2 separate regions of the Homo sapiens genome follow, and region 2 is linked to region 1. The links are contacts of gene promoters, found by promoter capture Hi-C in human tissues and cell types (Jung and others, 2019). All regions are on one chromosome and are shown on one strand. The core of a region is centred on a gene start or on the middle of the fragment in contact, and the rest is flanking DNA. Distances in the headings are between cores, read along the strand shown. Region 1 holds the start of PLEKHG3 (pleckstrin homology and RhoGEF domain containing G3). Region 2 overlaps MTHFD1 (methylenetetrahydrofolate dehydrogenase, cyclohydrolase and formyltetrahydrofolate synthetase 1).

Region 1 (4,794 bases), core at 155-2,654:
CAAGTCCTGGAAGGCCAGAAGGGGGACTTGTCACTTCTCCCCTGGCCGGCGGGGTCTAGCGGAGCCCCAACTAAGTTGATCTATTTCCGAGCCCCTCTTCTGCAATCTCTGCTCTCACCTTCACGGTCCGCGAGTCTGGGGCTCTGCAAGCCTCCAACACACCCTCCCTCCCTAAGGAATGTGGGCCCCGCTTTCTGGGCCTGCCAGACCGAGCGCCTACCGCTTCCTCCGCAGGCAGGAGCCGGGACGCTGCCTTCACCCCACCCTCCGCCAGGATCCAGTTTCAAAGTCACCTGAAAGCCATTTCCTTCCGCGCCTGCCCCGCCTCTCCCCTCCCAGTAGATCACCTGGAGCTTGCATTTGCCCAGAGCAGCATTTTGGGGCGGGCGCTTGTTTTGTTTTAAATGATACCTCTAGAAATCGTTTGCTGTACACCTGGATAACAAATATACCCCGTGGTTCTAATATCAGCGTCCTATTCCTCCTCCCAAGGAACTAGTGATAGCGCCTAACCAGTGGGCGTTGTTCCTCTTCCGGAGCCCCACTCTGGGCTTCCCTCCTCCGGGCTTGTTGTTCTTCAGGATCTTTACTGATGAATTATTATGGGTTTTTGGATTTATGCTCTTGCTCAAAATGTATTGAATGTCTCTGTCCCCCATCCTCACCCCTTGCCCCCCAGTTTCCAGGTGTGTACCTTTCCATGCATACACGGTCATATACAGAGACATAAAGACAAACGGTTCTCTTTGTTTTATAAAAACGGGTCCTCTATCATCCAGGTTTCTGTGTTTTATTTTTCCTATTTAACAGTTCCTTGTGGAGTTGCCTTCACGTTGTCTCCTTTATCTCTTTCCCGTCAGCTTCTCAGAGGTCTGCATTTACCACTGTAAAGCGTCACAGGGACCGAGTTATGGTGAGGAATTCAAGACATGCCTTTCTGACTTGGAAAAGCGGACACGGCCGGCTCTGGTAGGATTAGGATCCCCAGATCGATCCCGGCTGGTCACTCACTTGGGAAAGCCCTCAGCCCCCTTCGCAGGGCCCGGTGTTCCCTGTCCATACAAGGGGTACGTTCTGGCAGTCCATGCTGTCTCGGGAGGCGGTGATAGCAGGTCTGTGACACCAGGGTGACCCCACCACGTGCGTCTTGGTATCCTAGAGCATCTAGGCTGCCCGGGGGTGCGCGCTCATCACCCTGCGGGCGTTAATCGTTAACCGCGCCCAGGCCTCGCCGCCGCCGCAGCCTTACCCCGGCTCTGGCTCGCCGCGCCGCGAAGGTTGCCCCGGCCCCCGCAGAGCCGCCAATTGCTGGACTGCAGCCGCGAGCTGGAGTCTCCACCCACAGGAAAAATTCCTGGCCCGCCCCTCCCTCGCTCCCTCGCTCCCTCGCTCCCTCGCTCCCTCGCTCCCTCGCTCCCTCGCTCCCTCCTGCCCTCCCGCTGCAGCTCCGGCTCCGCTCGACTTCCTGCCGGGCGCTGGCAAGCCGCGCGCTGCCTGGGGTCTCCGGGGGCCGCGCTTGCAGCTGGCCGAGTCCGGGCCAGCTGAGGGGCTGGCGGTGGGCGGGAGCGGTCGGCGGCCTCAGCCCCTTCAGAGAGCGACTTTCAAACTCGCGCCCGCGTCGCGGCAGCACCTGGGCAGCCCCGCACGCCGTGCGCGTCCCGAGCCCGCGGGGCAGCTACCGCTCGGTGAGTGTCCCCTGATTCTCCTCTCTCCCCTCTTATCTCCCTGCATTAGGCTGAGCGGCGGTGCCGGCAGTCACGCTGGGGCCCCAGTCCCTTCGCGGCCCCCGTGCCAGCCCCCTGCGGGGTGAGGACCGGGGCGACCGAGGAGGGCCTGGAACTGTGTTGGCTGCTTCCCGGGCCACCCTGCCGCAGAGTGCGCGAGCGCAGGAGGGTCGTATGGGGAGACTTTTTCTGTCTTTTTTTCCCTCCACTCCGGAAACAAAAGGGGCAAATGCGCCGGGCGGCTCCAGAGAGGCTCAGTTTGAAATCCAGGAAGCCCGCGAGGCCGCGCGCGCCCGAGGGCTGGTGTTTGGCTGGAGCTGTGGGCCTGGCGGGTGGACCCTTCTGCGCGAGGACCCGAGCCTCGGCTCCTGCCAGCCCCGGAGGCGCCTGCAGCCTGTTCCGGGTTGGCGCCGCACGGTGCTCGCTGTTGGGAATCTCGGCTACCTGTCCGGCAGGGAGGAGAGTGGGGGCCAGAAGCGGGGAGCGGAAAGCCCGGCCACCAGCTGCCTCGACCTCGTCCACTCCTGAAGTCGGTTTGGTTCTTCGCACCCCTACACCCAGCCCTTTGGTTTGGAAAGCCAGTATAAGGCGTGCAAGCTTAAATTTTTAAGGCGTTAAATAGCTACTTTGACTCTTCGGGGCGCCTTTGGAACACAAAAGGAAGAACGGAGGGGAGAATGGAATGGTTGGAGGCTGGAGAGGTGTGGCTTTTGGGGAGGGTGTTGTTAGAGGCCGCGAAAGAGTTTGATCCTCGAGGTCACTCGCTAATCTGTTGGCATATGTAGGTGCCTGTCCCCTGCTCTGGGGGCCCCAGCAGGAGACCCACACTGCGTTCACCTTACGGGGAACCCTGGAGTGGGGGTTCCCAGAGTCTCCCCAGCCGTGCCTCTGCACGCAGCCCAGTCACATGGCCCTTGCTCAAGAAATAATAAGCAGGGAGGGCAATGACAGTCCGGAGCGGGGGAGGGCCTCCCCGTTGAGCACATCGGCCACCTCGCCTTCAGCAGTGTGGTTTTCCGGGCCATCCTTTGTTGGACAAGGATGGGATCCTGAGTGATTAAACCCCAGCTGTTCCCCAGGAGGAAACTAGGGAGTGAGAACCAAAAGTGTACATTTATCTCTCTGTTATACATCTCTCCCCTGTGGTTCCGGGCTGGCCCCCTGGATGCAATGGCCTCACTTCTCCTTTCGACACCTGCTGTCCTCCACTCCCTTCCTGGAAGATAGGACAACCCATTAGCTCCCTGGGTAACTTGCCCTGGGGATGGGGCAGGAAGTTGGGGGAAGAGGTACCCAGAGGCCAAGTCCTAGCTGCTGAGGGAGTGATTTGTTGAAGAGCTGCTTTGGGGGCTTTTCTACTGCCTTTTATTAGAAGTGGCATGGCAGGGGAAGTGGAAAGAGCACTGGCCTGATAGTCCAGCACGGGTTTATGCCTGAGTTTTAGACCTGGCTCTTCTGCATAGCATGGAAGATTGGTAGAGTTGAAGAGTGCGAGTCACTTGGGCTGGGGGGCCCCTTGGATTAGCCTACTTCATTTACTCGTGAAGGCAGCAGAGCCCAGAGGGGTGAGGTGATTTCAGCCTTAGACCCTATTGGCCAAGTAGAAACCAGAGGTCAGATGTCCTCATTGTCTGATCTGTGTTTTCTCCAACATGATCTGGCCAATTCACTTATCTTTTCTGACTCAGTTTCCACATAAATAAAGTGGGATTACTTGCCTGCTCTTCCTCATAGGAGCTGTGGTGAGGATCAAAGGAAGCCTCATTTGTGGAAAGTGCTCCATAAACTCCTGTTAAAACTAAAGGGCTCACAGTGGCTCGGGAGGGAGTCTCCCAAGGGTTTTACAATTTGCTGGCTATGTCCCACGTGTGTGCCACAAGGAGACGTTAGATACCAGGAGCCATTGTTGGATGTTTAAAACACCCTGGTCTTAATATCTCAGCCCCAGAGTAAACATTTGCCTTACCAAATCCGCAGCTATCCCACGGTCACTGTTTACGCTGGAAGAGGCCAAAGGCCACGGCCTGCGGGATGACCAGGGCTGGAGGGGGAAGGCTCCTCTGTTGCAGAGGTATGCCTTGCCCGTTCTCTTCTCCCAGCTCCCAGAACCTTGTGAAGGCTCCAGCTGTAAGCCAGGGGTGCTGCCACAAGCCCAGGCCGCCCTGGCCTTGGAGGGTTAAAAGTGAAGCCCTCTGGCTATTCTCTGTTGTGTTGGGGGTTGCAGGGACTCTGGGAGGGTGTTGCTTTTGCAGCTGCACTGAGGGCTGTCTTCAGCTCCTCATCTGTGCCCCCTCCCCCATCTCAGGCCGCCCCTCTGGCCCAGGCCACTGCTCTGTCCCGCCTCTCTGGCCAGCTGCAAGTCCACAGGCCTTTGTTCCGTGGCTGCAAACCCGCCCTACTCCATCCTCCCTCCTCAGCAGAAGCCCTCCAGCGGGGGCCCTGGCAGCTGGAAATCACAACTGCCAGGAGGAAGGGGCTACTGGAGCCCCCAGCGGACCTGGCAGATCCTCATTTCCTCTTGTCAAGCTCATCTGGGCCCCACAACTCACCTCTGGCCAGATTCCCACACCGTCTTTTCTCATCTCTCCTTTCTTCTGCTGAATGGACGGATCACCTTTTCCTCCCAGTACTCATGCCCCTTAGTTCTATTTTAAAGTACTCTATTCATTCATTTAATAGTTAAGGAGTTAGCACCTACTATGTATGAATGCCAGATGCAGAAGACACAGCAGTGAAGAAAATATACAATAATTATTGACCCAGTGGAGCTGACTTTAGCAGAAGTGACAATAAACAAGATTGAAATAGCAAGTGTGTTAGTGATAAACAGAAATAAAAAATATGATAGGGAAGGTAGGTGTGAATTGTCATGGAAGGGGTGAGGTGACAGTTTAGATAGGGTGGCCAGGGAGGCTTCCAGGAGGAAGGTACTTTTGAGGTGATGCCTGAAGGCGGTATTTTTCTTCATCGCTGCCTTTTCTAACTTGAAGCCCAGTTCATCCCACTGTGGCATCGAGGAACAGAGTTTGGAGTTGGACACACCTTGGTTTCAAATCCCTGGCTTGACAGC
Region 2 (5,220 bases), core at 2,259-4,758, 300 kb before region 1:
GGGGCTATTGTCCTATTGATTGTGCCTCTCATCAACTCTTGGAATCTGTTGCCTCCCCTTGATTCCTATTTCTCCCAACCCTGGGGCCACTATAGTTACCTGCTTAATGATTTGGGGTTCTATCTATATACCTCCTGTCTGTCCTCCTGACTGCAATTGCAATCCTTGTTAAAATGCAAGTCTGATCACAATCTATCCAGCCACACTCACTCTCCATCCTTTACCAGAATGATAGTACAAGTTGAGTATCCCTTATCCGAAATGCTTGGGACAAGAGTGTTTTAGATGTTGGAATCTGTATATACATAGGGATGAGATCCAATTCTAAAGCAAAATTTATTTGTGTTTCATTATATACCTTATACTTGTAGACTGAAGGTAATTTTATATATATGTGTGTGTGTGTATATATATATATAATAATAATTATTATTATTATTATTTTTTTTGAGACTGAGTTTTGCTCTTGTCACCCAGGCTGGAGTGCAATGGCACGATCTCGGCGCACTGCAACCTCCACCTCCTGGGTTCAAGTGATTCTCCTGCCTCAGCCTCCTGAGTAGCTGGGATTACAGGTGTGTTCCACCACGCCTGGCTAATTTTTGTATTTTTAGTTGAGATGAGATTTCACCATGTTGGTCAGGCTGGTCTTGAACTCCTGACCTCAGGTGATCCGCCTGCCTCGGCCTCTCAAAGTGCTAGGATTACGGACATGAGCCACTGCTCCCGGCCAATTTTATATATTTTTAATAATATTTTGCATGAAATGCACTTTTAACTGTGTTTTGACTGTAAGCCATCACATGAGGCCAGGTGTGGAATTTTCTACTTTTGGCGTTGTCAGTGCTCAAAGTTTCTGATTTTGGAGCATTTTTTATTTGTGGTTTTTTTTTTTTTTTTTTTTGAGACAGGGTCTCACTCTGTTGTCCAGGCTGGAGTGCAGGGGTGTGATCACAGTTCATTGCAGCCTGGATCTCCCAGGCTCAAGCTATCCTCCCATCTCAGCCTCCTGAGTAGCTGGGACTACAGGCATCCAGCTAATTTTAGTATTTGAGACAGAATTTCTCCATATTGCCCAGGCTAGTCTCAGACTGAGCTCAAGTGATCCACCTGCCTTGGCCTCCCAAAGTGCCGAGTCACCGCACCTGACTGATTTTGGATTTTTGAGTTAGGGATCTTCAACCTGTACTACTTATATAGAGTGTCTACAATAATTCAAATTGTTTGTTTATATTTCTAATCGTTCTATGTTTTATACTACCCTACGATGTAGGAGATGTCCCCTTATAGCCATAGTAACTCATGCTCAAAGATCTTGGGTAGCTTGCCCAAAGCCAGTCAGGAAGGGACTGAGTCTGGGAAATGAACCCAGATCTGTCTCTAAAACCCATTTGTTCTTCCCCTTTGTTTTCCTAATTCCTTAGCAATGCATTCAAGAACATTCATGATCTGGCCCAAGTATATATTTAAAAGTTGAGTTTTCATTTTTTTTTAATAAAGTGGATGAGTAACTTCCCAAATAACTGAATATTTATAGGAAATTAAGACTTGACTTTTCATTATAAGAGATACTAATGGGCTAGGCATGGTGGCTCACGCCTGTAATCCCACCACTTTAGGAGGCCAAGGCGAGTGGATTGCTTGAGCCCAGGAGTTCAAGACCAGCCTGGGAAATATAGAGAGACTTTGTCTCCAAAAAAATACAAAAATTAGCTGGTTGTGGTGGTGCTTGCCTGTAGTCCCCACTACTGAGGAGGCTGAGCTGGGAGGATTGCTCACGCCTGGGAGGTTGAGGCTGCAGTGAGCTGTAATCGTGTCATTGCACTCCAGCCTGGGTGACAGAGCAAGACTTTGTCTCAAAAAAAAAAAAAAGTTTCTGGTAAGGTGATAGAAATACAGCCTCAGCCCCATAGCCTCATTAGTATCTCTCACTCTCTCTCTTTTTTTTTTTTTTTTGAGTCAGAATCTTGTTCTGTCATGCAGGCTGGAGTGCAGTGATGTGATCTCTGCTCACTGAAACCTCTGCCCTCCCCTGTCCCCCAGGGGATCCTCCCACCTTAGCCTCCCAAATGAGCTGGGACTACAGGCACACCACCATGCCCAGATAATTTTTGTATTTTTTGTAGAGATGGGGTTTCGATATGTTGCCCAGGCTGGTCTTTAACTCCTGGGCTCAAGCAATCCACACACCTTGACCTCCCAAAGTGCTGGGAGTATAGGCATGAGCCACTGCACCTGGCCAAAAAACTGATTTTTAACAGTATTCGGGAACTATTCAGAGTGCTTTATGTATAGTAACTCATTCAGTCCTCACAAAATACATGGACAGAATACAGTTAATAAACTCAACTAGCCTGTATCTTCATAAGGTTTTCTGAAACAGAAAGAAAAATGAACCAGTAGACCAATACCCAAGATATCTTACGGTGTAGAACACAGATTAGTAAACTGTGGCCCGTATCCAAATGCTGCCCAGTTTATAAAGAGTTAAAAAAGCAATAGCAGCAGCTGCTGTGACACGGTATGTGTCCCACAAAGCCTAAAATATACACCGTCTGCCCCTCTACAGAAAGTTTGCAGACTCCTGGTATAAAAAAAAAGTGTCCCTAACCTGTTCTGGAATAGGATCTTTTTTGGATGATGTAGTACTCAGCCACCTTCAAGGAGAAATCAGCATTCTTTTTTTTTTTTTTTTTTTTGAGATGGAGTTTCACTCTTGTCGCCCAGGCTGGAGTGCAATGGCACGATCTTGGCTCACTGCAACTTCTGCCCCCGGGGTTCAAGGGATTCTCCTGCCTCAGCTTCCCAAGTAGCTGGGATTACAGGTGCACACCATCATGACTGGCTAATATTTGTATTTTTAGTATAGATGGGGTTTCACCATCTTGGCCAGGCTAGTCTCGAACTCCTGACCTTAGGTGATCTGCCCGCCTTAGCCTCCCAAAGTGCTGGGATTACAGGCGTGAGCCACCATGCCCGGCCAGAATACACGTTCTTTAAACATTCTTTTTGCATCTAGTCTATCAATGGTTCTATAACCACTTTCCCCTATAAAATGCCTATACTGGCCAAGTGTGGTGGCTCACACCTACCTAGCACTTTGGCAGGCTGAGGCAGGAGGATTGCTTAAGCCCAGGTGTTTGAGACCAGCCTGGGCAATAGAGAAACTCCATTTCTACAAAAAATACAAAAATTGGCTGTTTGTGGCAGCGTGTACTGGTAGTCCTAGCTTCTTGGGAAGCTGAGGTGGGAGGATTGCTTGAGCCTAGGAGTTGCAGGCTGCAGTGAGCCATGATCATGCTACTGTACTCTAGGCTGGGTGGCAGAGTAAGACCCTGTCTCAAAAATAATAAATAAATAAATAAAACCTATACTAAGAGTGACTCTTTGAATTGGCTTTTAGATGTCTTTTCCAATAAAACTTTGACATACGCTCATAACTATAACTATTAAGTTTTCTTTCTGGAACTGGTTGTAGTTTTAGTGTTTTAGACAAACTCCTTCAGAAATATTCAGGCCGAAAATAGTTACATGTAAAGGAACAACAACAGCGAGAGACTTCAGACTTCTCCTGTGTGACATTAGATGCCAAAGACAACATCTCCGAAGGAAAATGCTGTCACTCCAAATCAGGCAAGGCCAGTCAAGTGCAAGGGACAGCAGAAAAATATTTTCAGTTATACAGACTTAGAAACATGTCCACCTACCTTTCCTGGAAAACTGACTTATAAGTTACATTTCACTTACTTGAAACATGAATGAAGATAAATTCTAGAACAGAGAAGTTGTGGCTTCCTTACTGGCAGCAAGTGATAAAACAATTTAATCTCAGAGTTAAGACTAAATAACTAGTGGTAGGTATAAATATGAATGAAATTGTAAAAAAATAATACTTTTGTATTTAGAACCACCTCCTTTCCTACTTTGATCTAAAAATTCCGGAATGTATCAAATCTGGTAACTGAACCAGTGAGGGTTGGGTGGTGGGGCAAAGAACATACATAGAAAGTGACCAAAGAGGAAACATGAGAGGCACGAAAAGTCTAGGGAAGCCCCTACGAGAAGCATCTAATGTACTTAGATACAAATAACCCATTAAAAAAAAAGGTAGAATTCCCCTCAAAGGACTCTTCTGGCTCTTGCAATTCAAATTAGCACCACAAAACTGAGAACTGTCTGTATAAGGGACAACTGAAGCTAAGATTCAGGCCATGTCCTGAGATCTGAGGAGAGCGTCCAGTAATAGCACCAATATGACAAGCTCAGAAAATCCTGTGTTACAAAAGCCGGCTTCTTTCTCTGCCATGGTCCTGTTAAAAGGAGCTGTGCTTCAGTTGTCTTTGATATGAAGGGACCACCACCTTTCCCTCTGTGATACCCTCTGCAATTCTGGGAGAAACACAACTTATGGTAGCATGTATCAACCTTGAGAAGGAGAAATACCAACCACTGGAGCATGAAACAATATTAGTACAATAAAATTTTACAAATAAATGGTTATAATGATAAACTATAAATATGTTCATGGTCAAAGAAACAGAGGGAACATAGTGAGACACTGCATGGTGGTTCAAAGGATTTAGCCTCTGCACTACAAGTTTCTCCCTGTCTCTCTCTTTTTTTTTTAAGAGACAAGGTCTCTCTCTGTTGCCCAGGCTGCCCAGGCATAGTACCATGACTCACTGTGCACTGGTGCAATCATGGAAAAACTCTTGACCTCAAGTAATCCTCCCACCTTGGCCTCCTGAGTGCTGGGACTACAGGCAGGCACCACTATGCCTGGCTAATTTTTTGTAAAGATGGGGGGGGGGGTCTCACTATGTTGCCCAGGCTGGTCTCGAACTCCTGGGCTCAAACGATCCTCCTCCCTTGGCCTCCCAAAGTGCAGGGATTATAGACCTGAGTTGCTGCACCCGGCCTCCTCTCTGTGTTGGGGCCAGCAGATTGCCCTTTGTCTTGCCTGGCTGTTTATTCTGTGTAAACTAGAGGGAGGTCCTTCCACCCTCCTTTCTATTGTCTGTGTGGCGGGGCCAGGGAGCTTTCCATTGCCCCTGCGGGTGGGGGAGAGGGTGTGGAATGTGCCCTCTGGGTGCTCCTGCCTCTCAGGCATTTTTCTTGCCTGATGACAGTTTCTCAGCCCTCCATACTCTGTTTTTCTGGTATGGCAGCAGAAATCCCACATGTTTCTAGTAGGCCTGCAGCATCCTTGCTTAGTTTCCA

What was found. Contacts are between HindIII fragments. The study calls those that stand out against the background at their distance.
Region 2: a contact is called between a fragment that was not itself captured here and the fragment with the promoter of PLEKHG3 in region 1, in 2 of the 25 tissues and cell types used here (aorta and thymus).

The regions. Positions count from the first base shown.
Region 1 is chr14:64,703,020-64,707,813 of GRCh38, forward strand. It overlaps PLEKHG3 (pleckstrin homology and RhoGEF domain containing G3), which reads left to right and starts at 1,405. Exons shown (of 17, transcript NM_001308147.2): 1 at 1,405-1,685. RefSeq lists an enhancer at 1-185. The HindIII fragment of the contact is 6,175 bases long and covers 1-3,676 here.
Region 2 is chr14:64,405,607-64,410,826 of GRCh38, forward strand. All of the region lies in intron 2 of MTHFD1 (methylenetetrahydrofolate dehydrogenase, cyclohydrolase and formyltetrahydrofolate synthetase 1), which reads left to right. Among named protein-coding and RNA genes, the nearest start is that of MTHFD1, 20 kb to the left of the region's middle. The HindIII fragment of the contact is 9,503 bases long and covers 1-5,220 here.